Linked DNA regions of Homo sapiens: all the other regions are linked to region 4. Evidence: promoter capture Hi-C in 16 types of primary human blood cells and fetal thymus (Javierre and others, 2016). All regions are on one chromosome and are shown on one strand. Each heading gives the region's core, a stretch centred on a gene start or on the middle of the fragment in contact. The rest is flanking DNA. Distances are from core to core; before and after follow the strand shown. Region 1 holds the start of MLLT3 (MLLT3 super elongation complex subunit). Region 2 holds the start of MTAP (methylthioadenosine phosphorylase). Region 3 holds the start of B4GALT1 (beta-1,4-galactosyltransferase 1). Region 4 holds the start of C9orf72 (C9orf72-SMCR8 complex subunit).

Evidence for each region. The method cuts DNA at HindIII sites, captures the fragments that hold promoters and counts their contacts. A CHiCAGO score of 5 or more calls a contact.
Region 1: a contact is called between the fragment with the promoter of MLLT3 here and the fragment with the promoter of C9orf72 in region 4, in 1 of 17 cell types (total B cells). The highest score is 5.4, in total B cells.
Region 2: the fragment with the promoter of MTAP here is called in contact with the fragment with the promoter of C9orf72 in region 4 in 1 of 17 cell types (total B cells); the score reaches 5.1 in total B cells.
Region 3: a contact is called between the fragment with the promoter of B4GALT1 here and the fragment with the promoter of C9orf72 in region 4, in 1 of 17 cell types (neutrophils). The highest score is 6.0, in neutrophils.

What each region holds. Positions count from the first base shown.
Region 1 is chr9:20,621,110-20,623,887 of GRCh38, forward strand. It overlaps MLLT3 (MLLT3 super elongation complex subunit), which reads right to left and starts at 1,390. Exons shown (of 11, transcript NM_004529.4): 1 at 1,136-1,390. The coding sequence starts at 1,147. RefSeq lists silencers at 679-728, 799-948, 1,369-1,828, 1,849-1,988. The HindIII fragment of the contact is 2,564 bases long and covers 1-2,126 here.
Region 2 is chr9:21,801,129-21,804,075 of GRCh38, forward strand. It overlaps MTAP (methylthioadenosine phosphorylase), which reads left to right and starts at 1,508. Exons shown (of 8, transcript NM_002451.4): 1 at 1,508-1,653. The coding sequence starts at 1,621. RefSeq lists enhancers at 387-1,017, 1,018-1,646, 2,141-2,350 and a silencer at 1,691-1,850. The HindIII fragment of the contact is 2,099 bases long and covers 332-2,430 here.
Region 3 is chr9:33,165,855-33,168,655 of GRCh38, forward strand. It overlaps B4GALT1 (beta-1,4-galactosyltransferase 1), which reads right to left and starts at 1,482. Exons shown (of 6, transcript NM_001497.4): 1 at 904-1,482. The coding sequence starts at 1,315. It overlaps B4GALT1-AS1 (B4GALT1 antisense RNA 1), which reads left to right and starts at 1,094. Exons shown (of 3, transcript NR_108110.1): 1 at 1,094-1,192. RefSeq lists silencers at 1,234-1,507, 1,266-1,665 and enhancers at 1,333-1,898, 1,816-1,915, 1,899-2,463, 1,986-2,065. The HindIII fragment of the contact is 9,103 bases long and covers 1-2,801 here.
Region 4 is chr9:27,572,205-27,574,954 of GRCh38, forward strand. C9orf72 (C9orf72-SMCR8 complex subunit) reads right to left here and starts at 1,277. Exons shown (of 11, transcript NM_018325.5): 1 at 1,227-1,277. RefSeq lists enhancers at 671-760, 1,359-1,886 and a silencer at 1,271-1,350. The HindIII fragment of the contact is 3,790 bases long and covers 718-2,750 here.

The DNA.
Region 1 (2,778 bases), core at 140-2,639, 7.0 Mb before region 4:
CGGGGAAAAGAGGGAGAACACACTCAGCCACGACAAGCACGACAACAAATGCATCGGAAACAAATCAGAAGGCGATGCCGGGGCGGTTTCCCGGCGTGGGAGGGGAGGTGGCTGGGACCCAGGGGGACCGAAGGGCTCCTGGCGAGCCCCCTCCCCGAAAGTACCGCGGCGACAGGCACACGCCGAGGAAGTCTTTGTGTACGTGTGTGTGCGTGCGTGTGGAGCGCTGTGCCAGGCGAAATGGAAACTACAGGCAGCCTCTGCTGATGGGCACAAACTCCCGTGCTCTTGCCACGGGGTTCGTGCACAACAAAAATGAGACGTCGTCATACACACTGAAACACACACACACGCCCGCAGGAAAACACGCCGAGGCATCCATAACTTAGAGCACCCCGCACCCCCCAGCGAAAAGCCCCACGCGATCGGCGAGGCCAGTCGAACCGAGCCCCCGCAACACACTTTCAAGAGCCCAAGTGGCTCCAAAGTATCTCCCACCTCCCCCCAAAAAATGAAATTCAGAAAGGCAGGGCGGCGGGCGGACAGCCGCCGAGCCTCGGCTCGCGCTCAGCACCTCCCGGCGCTGGGGCAAAGTTGCGTGCGGCCCCGCCGCTGTCAGCCCCGCACACTTCGGCTCACACACGCGCGCCGCGGAGAACGCACCATCGTAGCGGCCGCGGCGCTTTGCGGAGGTGCGGCCGCCGAGGCTGCTCGCCGCGTCCCCGGACTGTGCCCGCAGCTCCCGGCGGCGGCGGCTGAAATATGGCTGAGTTATTATTCGCCTCCTTCCACCGTGTGTGTGTGTGTGTGTGAGTGCGCGCGTGTGAGCGAGAGGGAGTGTGTGAGTGCGCTTCTTGTGACTGCAAAGAGGCGAGGAGGGAGGGAGGCGCGGGGGGTGGAGGGGCGAGTGTGAGCGTGTGTGAGTGTGTGTGTGTCTGTGTGTCTGTGTGCGCGCCGGGGGGGGGTGGGGGAGGAGGGGAGCGGAGGCTGAGGGAGAGGCGGCAGCTCCCTGCAAGCCGTACCAACCTTTCTCTAATTGGAACCGCGGAGCGCTGGCGCTGTCTGGGCTGCGGCGGCGCAGGGCGAGGAAGGAAAGTGGGGGAGGGCTTTTATTATTATTTTTGCGCGTACTTACCGAGCTAGCCATGCCTGGGGGCCCGGAGGTTTGCTGGGGTGTTGTGTGGTACCCCCCCCTCCTCCGCCCCCCCTCAGCTGTAATTCATGAAGAGGCTGCTATGAATGAGAGCGCGCCCAGGAGCGGAGGGTAGATGGCGGACATTCTCTGCCTTTTTCCCCCCGCGCTCGCTTGCTCGCTCGCTCGCTTATTAAACTCAGCCCCAAAAGCAAAAGCAGCAGCAGCAGCAGCAGCTCCAGGGTAAAGAAGATGATTGCGGAGCATGCGCCGTGGCGCCTGACACCCGGGCTCCGAGCCTCACAGGGCGGAGGGAGGGCTTGCGGGCGGGGCGGAGCGCGCGGGGAGGCAGAGCGAGCGAGCCAGGGGGAGCTCGAAAGAGCCAATCACCTGCCACCTCCCGAAACCCCGGCGGCCCGCAGCGCCACACTGGAAAGCCTCGCTTAAAGTAACAGGTTCCTGCTGGGGGGGTGGCAGGGAGGGGACGCAGGAGTGGGGAGAGCGGCCAGCTGGGGAGCCATCCCAGCCCCTGTGTAAACTCTGCTCGCCCTACAATAAAAAACGGATTAAAACTGCTGGAATGTAGCCACTGCTTAGAGCCCTCAGCAGCCGGAGAGGGGGTGTTAAATCAAGTCCTTAGCTAGTACGCACGGGGAGGAGGGAGTGGGCTTTCTTTTACTTTCCACCACGTATTTCTGTGGTTTTGTGCTGAAAAGACAAGAACTCACACCCAAACAAACTTACTTAAAGAGAGCGAGAGAAATGCCATCCTGCAAAAAACGAGCATGAAAATAGCAATGACTGAGGCTGTTCTAACCCGCAACGATCCCCTGGCCCCCTGCCCCATCCACTCACAGGCACCCGCCCGCCACCCTCACTCCCCGCCCTTCTGCCACCGCCACCGAAAATTTGAAAATGAAATGAACAAGGGAGAAACAAGGATGCTATTTCCTTGCAAGGGAACGCCTTCCGCTTTGGTAATCCCCGGCTGGGAAGCTTCATAAAGCGGTGCCCAGGTGAAAGCAAGACACCTGGGAGTGCCGGGTACAGACCCTCGGGGACCAGGCTTGGAGTTGTTTTCTTCGGGGGGCTTCCCCTCCTGACAGCCTACTGAGTTGCATCAGAACGTGGAGGATTGTCCTCTGAGGACGCGCGGGGCAACCGGGAGTCTTAAAATAGCAGATAAAGTTAATACTGACTGTAATGTGCGTAAATTGGATTATAATCTTTAGGCGTATTGGTGACAACCAGCGTAATCCATCTCTGAGTATTAATCCGGTTAGACTCCCGGGTGACAGCCAGTCGCAGGAGTGTTCCCAGAGTCGCGCCTCTGCAAATGTTCTCACTCGCGTTGTATTTGATCTCAGTGGCCGGAGATAGAACAGCGCGGCCACGCGTGGGGCGCGGAGAGGAGTATCAACTACTGGCTTCCTTTACAGACGCAGATAACCTTTAAAAAGGAAACGGATAAGATCTAGACGATTGATTTGAAAGTGAAAGATGGATGTGACTTTGGTTCGTTAAAAAAAGATCCTTGCATCTTCCTAGCCCTTAGACCTCTTTTGCCTTCTCTTTACTCCCCTTTTTCCCTCGCCTTCCAACTTCTTGCTGAACCTTGATTTTTCCTTCTCTTCTCCTTGCCTTTC
Region 2 (2,947 bases), core at 258-2,757, 5.8 Mb before region 4:
AGAAACTGGACTTGTTAACCATATCAAGTCACTTAAGTTGGCTAGGATCCCCTACTTAGGTAGCGGCCATAAAGCCTAGGGCATCCCTGTGCCCTCAATGGTTCACTTCTGAGTGGTGGGCTTCCTGCTCCTCAATAGAGCAATCGGCAGAAAGGCCCCTAGAAAGCTACATTGTCTTCATCCGCGAAGGATTCCCTGTCTCCTATTCCTCAAAGGAGCACCCGGATTCTACTTTCATTCTTCTTTTGCCATTGCATTTTATAACTTAAAAGAAATAGATGATTGTAACAGAAGAAAGAAAACTTTACATTGTGAGAAAATTTAGACCTAAAGCTTATAGTAATGTGAGGACGAAAGTCTATACTGTTTAAGTAAATAGGTTCTATGAGCAGCATCCAGGCTAACATCACACAGTGGTATTTTGAATTAAATTGTACTTGTGTTTTGTTTCCGTGTTTTGCTGCTGTAAGGAAAGAGGAAAGCATCCCCTTTCTCGGCCCTCCTCCCACGTCCAGGCTAATTTGCAGCATTTCTACATCTCAGAGTCCACCCTTAAGATCCTTGCCACCCATTATTTTGTTTCAGAACGCTTAATCCATCAAGGAAGGTTAAATTGGATTACCCCAGTAGGGAAGGGACGGGGGCTGTAAGCATGAGGGATTATCCCTGTAAAGGGCTCGTGGTGTGTGTGTGTGTGCGTCCTGCTAGTGTTGAATGACGGAGACCTGAGTTTGGATTCTGAATCCAGGTGTATTCGATGCCGCTCCGGCGTAGAACGGGTTAAAGATGCCCCCAGCCAGGTAGAGCCAGACTGGGAGTTGTGCAAGGTCTCAACCCCCTAAAAGCGGCCCCTCAAATTGAAGATGAGTAAATCATAGTTCGTAAATCAGAAAGATTATCCAGTACTACGTTACTCTGTTTATTTCCCTTTCGTCATCCCTGAGTCTTGGGTCAAGTCCATCCCAGCTCTGTCCTCCAGGAATCAAGGGAAATACGCAAACCCGCGGTGGGTTCGCAGCCGCAGGAAGGACAAATCTTGCCCCCGCCGCGGCGGCCGCCCCGCGTTAGCTGCCTAAGAGAATCTCCGTGGCCGGCCAGTACCCGCCTTGGTGAGGATTCTCCCTCCCGCGAGAACTTCTGGAATGCCGCCGGGCCAGATTTTGCAGCTGAGGCCTCCGACGCCACTAATATTGGGCCAAGCAGGGAGTGCTGCTCTTCCTTATAAGGTTTTAGCGAAAGTTAAGTAAGCCAATTAAAGTGCAAAACACACAGTCTGGAACAATACAGCGCTCTATAAATGGTCTCCATTATTATCATTATCCGTTAGTTATAACTGGGGATAAAAAAAAAAAAAAAACGACAAAAACCTGGAGAACCGGAAAGGTCTGCAAAAGGGGCGGAACGCGGGAACTTCGATTTGGGGAAGGGGTGGCGGGGGAGATCCCACACAAGCAGCCAATCCAGCTGTCCCGGGGAGGAAGAGGAGGAGTCAAGGCCCGCCCCTGGTCTCCGCACTGCTCACTCCCGCGCAGTGAGGTTGGCACAGCCACCGCTCTGTGGCTCGCTTGGTTCCCTTAGTCCCGAGCGCTCGCCCACTGCAGATTCCTTTCCCGTGCAGACATGGCCTCTGGCACCACCACCACCGCCGTGAAGGTGAGATGAGCCCTCCCAGCCGCAGCGGTTCGCCCTGCCGGATGCCTTCTCGCCCCCGCGCCGGGGGACCGCGCCTCCGGGGGCCATGCGCCCGGCCCGTGCGTCCCTTGCCGCCGCGGGGAGGGACTGGGGCGCGGCACTCGGGACTCACTTGCCGCGCGAGGAGAGGGTACGCTTGCAAATGATCCCCCTGCCGCACCGCCAACACACACACACACACACACACACACACACACACACACACACACACACACACCACCTTTTGGCTTATCTGCACCCGCACCCTGTAGGGCGTAGGCACCCCTTTAGAGAGAGAGGTCGTGGATGGGAGAGGCTGCACCCATGCCACCACCATTCCTGAGAACCACTCTTCTTCCAAGAAAGACACCCGGCTGGAGTCAGGAGGTGTCCGGGCGCCTGCAGCTTCTGTGACCGTCTCCTGGTGCCTTGCGGGACTCCAGCTTCCGCTCTCTGACTCTGCTTGTTGCCTGCGGCCCACGTGGGAGAACTGCTTACTTGCTCTTTTGTATGCTTCCGGCTTCTTTTTCCTCCAAACGTAGGCCTTCTCCGCGCTGAAGTTTTCCCCAGCAGCGTAATACTGTAAGAATTCTGAGACTTTCTTCGAAAAGGAGTACAGGCGTCCGTTTTTAGGGCTGCACTGTTTGGAGGCCTCTGGCTTGAAACTGCTTTGTTTTGCAGCCTTGCAAGTTAGAGTTCAATTTCCTTGTGCCCTAGGCCCTGAGAGGCCTTGATACAAGGGGTCATTGTGCGGTGGGAAGCTTTGTGCTGAGGAGGGCACGAGTTCTGAGAGTAGCAGCTGGCTTCCCTGGGGTTTTAAACACTTCTCTCCTGGTTAGTATTCCGAGAGAGAATTACAGCACGTAAAGAAAAATTGATGATAAAACTTAAGACCTCTTCTAGGCAGTTTATTACTGGCTAAGAATGCGTTCTTGTTTGATTTTTAGAAATTTTTGGCCTATGGGATAGGAAGGTCTGCGATCTTCTCCAAAGCATCTCGATTCCCTACACTCGACTGCAGTTTTCCCGGGAGAAGGCGAATTTCTGCGGTCAGTGTGTAATCAGCCAGATTAGTTTATTACGCCCTTGCAGGTTTAAATGAGCCACTTAGAATGAGAGGAATGGTGAAGGGTGTTGCATCCAGACTTATATATGAAACTTATTTTGTCATTTTGAAAAGAATCTTGCATCCAGCAAATATTTATAGAAGGCCTCTCCCCTGCCTTCATTGTTTGGCGGAAACAAGGCAGAAATGGTTTTCATGAAACTCGTGTGA
Region 3 (2,801 bases), core at 232-2,731, 5.6 Mb after region 4:
TCTCTGCCTATGCTGAAACAGGCTAGAGGTCAGAGTTCAGATCATCTGGGCAAGATAATTGAGACTCAGGCTGCTACCGGAAGTACCAGAAATGGGCAACGTGGTGTTGACTGGTTATATTTTAGCCCTCTAACACCCAGAGTACACAAGCTCTCTGCCCCTGGGAGAGATCCCTGCTCACCTAGGTTTTGGGTACCCATACCAGGAGGAGGCTAGGGGGAAGGGCTCTCGGTCACGATCCACACAGAGGAAGAAATGAACACACAGTGACAATTTACTGAGGGCTTACCCTCATTAATTAAGCCCTTATTTACCATTGTTCACAATATCTTCCAAAACAACCCCTTGAAAGGGTGACCATTTATTATCCCAGAAGAGAAATATGAGGTTCAGAGAGAAGTCACTTGGCCCAAACGATCAGGAGAAAAACCCACTCAGGAGAGTGGCTCTATGGCAAGACACGTGAACCGAGAGGTCAGTCTCCTTCCCCACCGGGAGCCTCACGTCAGTCCCCAAAAGGGAGTGGATTACTCGAGGTCCCTACCAGAGTTCTCAGTGCAAGGCTGCTCGAAGCCCTAAGCAGACCCAAACTCCAAAACTTCCTGAGCCTCGGGCCACAGCAGGGAAGTCTCCAAGGCCTTCTCTGGTTCTGGGGCTAGAGGGGCCTCGGGACTTCCCTGTGCGGTCCCGGCCCCACGCCTCCAACAGGACTCCCCAGGGACCCACCTCGCAAACCTTCTCTCCCATCCAGTCCCAAGCCTCTGTCTGGGATTTAAAACTCTGATCCAGAAGAGGGAGGCTGGCTGTCGTAGAAGAGCCAGCCTGAGGGAATGTCTGGGGGACCCTGTCGGGGAAATCCGGGGGGGTCCCAATCCTCCGACTGGCGCCGACCCGAGTCCTTACCAAGCAGCGGGGACTCCTCAGGGCAGGCGGGCAGCGACAGTGCGGTGGTGTGGGGCACTGGGACCGAGGTCAAGTTGCTAGCGGGGCCAGGGCCAGAATCCACGACTGGGCTGGAGTCGCCACCCGGGCGCGGCTGGGAGGAGGCGCCTAGAGGAGGCGGCGGCCGGGCCCCTCCGGTCCGGAGCTCCCCGGAGGACTGCCCGATGGCGGCGGCACTGTTCGAGCCGCCCTGCAGCGGTGTGGAGACTCCGACCAGTTGGGGCAGGCGGCTCAGGTCGCGGCCAGCCAGGTAGTAAACGAGGGTGACGCCAAGGTGCAGAGCGCAGACGGCCACGAGCAGGCGGCAGGCCCGCTGTAGGGACGCGCCTGGCATCGCGGCGCTGCCGCTCAGGAGCGGCTCCCGAAGCCTCATCTTCCCGCCGCCGCTTTAAGAAGGGTGTGGGCTACAGGAGGGGAGGCGACCCGCCCGCGGGCCGCCCGCCAGGCGCTGCCCCACAGCGGCGACTAGGGGAGGGCCCGGAGCGGGGGCGGGCGAGCGGCTGAGAGCTGAGACTCCTCCAGCCAGCCAGACCTGGGAGCGGCGAGAAGCCGCCCGAGGCGCCGGCGGAGAGGGGAGGGGCGGGGCCCCGGCGAAGGCGGGGGCGGGGCCGGGCGCGGGGTTTTCTGGACGAGGGCGGGAAGGCGGGGCAGCCCGTGGCGGGATGGGCGCGCTGGGCGGGGCCTCGGGAGGGTGGGCAGCGGGCGGGGCGCCGTCGTGGGGTCCCCGGAGTATGACTGCAGCTCCGACGCTTGGCCGCGCACCGCCCTCTTCCTCCCGAGCCTTTGCGGCGGAGCTTCGGTCGCGTTGAGCCGCGCCTCCTCTTCCTCCTCCACGCTGCCCTCGACAGGCCGCGCCACTTCCTGGGGTGCGAAGGGACTCGGGTGCGAGCCTGGGCCTGCAGCGCGGCGGCGGAGAGAACGGAGAGGACAGCTGGCGGGTGGTTATCTGGAGTGGTTTGGGGCCGCGGCGGCGTTCTGGCCAGTGGGCCTTGGTGGGCTAGGAAGAGAGGCAGAAAAAGGTTACCCAGGAAACGGGCTTCGACGCCGGGCGAGGAGTGGCACGTTCGAAACCCCCTCCCTAACTCAGCCCGGCTGGACCCCGCTGCTTAACGGGGGGTCCTGCGGCAAAGAAAGTGGACGGGTTGCCACTTCTGTGCCTCCCCATCAGGTAGCCTGGGCTATAAGGGGCTCTCAGACCAGCTTGGTTCCAGATGTGTGTGTGGCGGGAGTCCTGTATACTTTGAAGAGGAGAGCAGCAAGAAGCCTCTAACTCCCAGGCCAGCGTGCAGGAGATCAGCCGGCGTTACAGTCTACACTGGGCTACCCACTGTCCCATGAAGTAGCAGTTCTCCCCATGTCGTAGAGTGGGGCCCCGGCAGATTAAGAAACTTTCCTAAGAGCCCACAGCTGGCAAGAGGCAGAATTCTGGCTCCGAAACCCATGTTTTCTACAGGTTTACCCTTTGTTGATTTGCAAGTAAGGGCTGAAGGCTGTGTGGGTGAGAGACTTAGGCACTGAAGCCACTTGACCTCGATTTGACCCAGAGGCCTCAGGCCCTGAGTGAGCAGAGACACCTCACCCCAGAGAAAGACTCATGGAGGTGCTGTCAGTAATGTGGATAGGGAAGTTGAGGGCTCTGGCAGCCAACCATCAGGGAATAACAGTAGCTACCTTATTTTGAGAGTTTGCTGTGTGCCAGTACTATCTGCCATGAAGTAGGTGGTGTTACGGTGTCCATTTCACAGATGAGAAAATAAGGCTTATGAGTTGACACTTTGGTTGTGATCATACAGAATCAACTTTCCTCACTTGACTTCCTGGACACCAGGTCCTTCTGATCTTCCTCACTTCACTGGCCA
Region 4 (2,750 bases), core at 27-2,526:
GGAATGTGGTAATTACTCTCGTTCTTGTTTCAGATGTACTATCAGCATGTAGCAGTTTCCAACTGATTCAGGGTTTTCCTAAAGTGGCAGGCCTTGGCAGAGGTGGTGACAACAATGCCCGTGTCAAATGACACCGTATTTCAAGTATTCTGACTCCAGGTTATTAATATCCCCTATATGATAGTCTTGTTTCTGTGATATTCACAGATTATGTTAAAAGTTTCCCAAAGTCTGAGAAAAATCATATCTTAACAGTATCTTTTTTTTTTTTGATCCTTTGTACAAAAGTAGAAGTAATGCCAGACAGATTACGTACCCTTGTTGTGAACAACTGGTGCATGGCAACTGTTTGAATAGAAATTTACCAACTGCCACAACCAGGCAACTACTCTCCCAGAGCCTAACAATCTCGATTGCATCTGAAAGGGCCACCCCTCCTGGGAAAGTGCAGGACCTCCCTCCTGTTTCTGAATACAAAGCCTGGTGGTGTTCAACGCGGCCAGATAGACCCAATGAGCACACGGACATGTAATCTGTGCACTTCTTTAGACAACTGATTACCATCAGTCAAGTGATGCCCAAGTCACAATAGTCACTTCCTTTAAGCAAGTCTGTGTCATCTCGGAGCTGTGAAGCAACCAGGTCATGTCCCACAGAATGGGGAGCACACCGACTTGCATTGCTGCCCTCATATGCAAGTCATCACCACTCTCTAGAAGCTTGGGCTGAAATTGTGCAGGCGTCTCCACACCCCCATCTCATCCCGCATGATCTCCTCGCCGGCAGGGACCGTCTCGGGTTCCTAGCGAACCCCGACTTGGTCCGCAGAAGCCGCGCGCCGCCCACCCTCCGGCCTTCCCCCAGGCGAGGCCTCTCAGTACCCGAGGCTCCCTTTTCTCGAGCCCGCAGCGGCAGCGCTCCCAGCGGGTCCCCGGGAAGGAGACAGCTCGGGTACTGAGGGCGGGAAAGCAAGGAAGAGGCCAGATCCCCATCCCTTGTCCCTGCGCCGCCGCCGCCGCCGCCGCCGCCGGGAAGCCCGGGGCCCGGATGCAGGCAATTCCACCAGTCGCTAGAGGCGAAAGCCCGACACCCAGCTTCGGTCAGAGAAATGAGAGGGAAAGTAAAAATGCGTCGAGCTCTGAGGAGAGCCCCCGCTTCTACCCGCGCCTCTTCCCGGCAGCCGAACCCCAAACAGCCACCCGCCAGGATGCCGCCTCCTCACTCACCCACTCGCCACCGCCTGCGCCTCCGCCGCCGCGGGCGCAGGCACCGCAACCGCAGCCCCGCCCCGGGCCCGCCCCCGGGCCCGCCCCGACCACGCCCCGGCCCCGGCCCCGGCCCCTAGCGCGCGACTCCTGAGTTCCAGAGCTTGCTACAGGCTGCGGTTGTTTCCCTCCTTGTTTTCTTCTGGTTAATCTTTATCAGGTCTTTTCTTGTTCACCCTCAGCGAGTACTGTGAGAGCAAGTAGTGGGGAGAGAGGGTGGGAAAAACAAAAACACACACCTCCTAAACCCACACCTGCTCTTGCTAGACCCCGCCCCCAAAAGAGAAGCAACCGGGCAGCAGGGACGGCTGACACACCAAGCGTCATCTTTTACGTGGGCGGAACTTGTCGCTGTTTGACGCACCTCTCTTTCCTAGCGGGACACCGTAGGTTACGTCTGTCTGTTTTCTATGTGCGATGACGTTTTCTCACGAGGCTAGCGAAATGGGGCGGGGCAACTTGTCCTGTTCTTTTATCTTAAGACCCGCTCTGGAGGAGCGTTGGCGCAATAGCGTGTGCGAACCTTAATAGGGGAGGCTGCTGGATCTGGAGAAAGTGAAGACGATTTCGTGGTTTTGAATGGTTTTGTTTGTGCTTGGTAGGCAGTGGGCGCTCAACACATAATTGGTGGATGAAATTTTGTTTTTACCGTAAGACACTGTTAAGTGCATTCAAAACTCCACTGCAAACCCTGGTAGGGGACAGCTCCGGCACTGCGGGCGGGAATCCCACGGTCCCCTGCAAAGTCATCGCAATTTTGCCTTTACATGTAAGAATTCTCTCAAGCATGATTTTCACACTGGGGAATGTCATTTTTGCTAGTTGCAATATGTGGATGAGTTGTTTTTTTTTAACTTTTGAAAAACGTACCATTCTGTTTGATGTGTAAAAAACACAAAGATTTTTGAAACCTTGCGTCTTTTGGTCTGCAGGTGTATAGATTCCACTTACTACAGATGAGTAGCATTTACACCACTCAGATGTGTAAAAAAACAAAGGTTTTTTAAACTGTGTGCCTTTTGATCTGCAAGTGTGAGATGGCACTTACTACAGTGAGTAGCATTTAATCTTTTTCATCACTAAAAATCACACAGAACGTTTTAATCATTCACCGAGGAAGAAAGGGAGGAATAAATACACAAAATGGCTCTCAACGTCTACACCTTCTGCAGAAACAGACCCTTTTCCTACTGTTCTATGCTTTGTGAAAGTTGATCATACAAATTGGGTCATTCTTTTTATACCCAACTAAAATAGTGGGGGTAGGGGGTAGAAAAGCACTTAGGACAAATGACACTGCTCCCACAGTGTAATTCTCTCCAAGTCCAGCTGCTGCAACTGCCCGTTGTGACCTGAGACCAGTTTTATCTAATAGTTGCTAAAATGACCTGCTGCAGCTCTAATTTTATCTACCACCATCACTCACCAGTTGAAACTCACCAGCTCCTCAGATCCTTAATAGTGCCAATGAATTTTCTCAAAGAG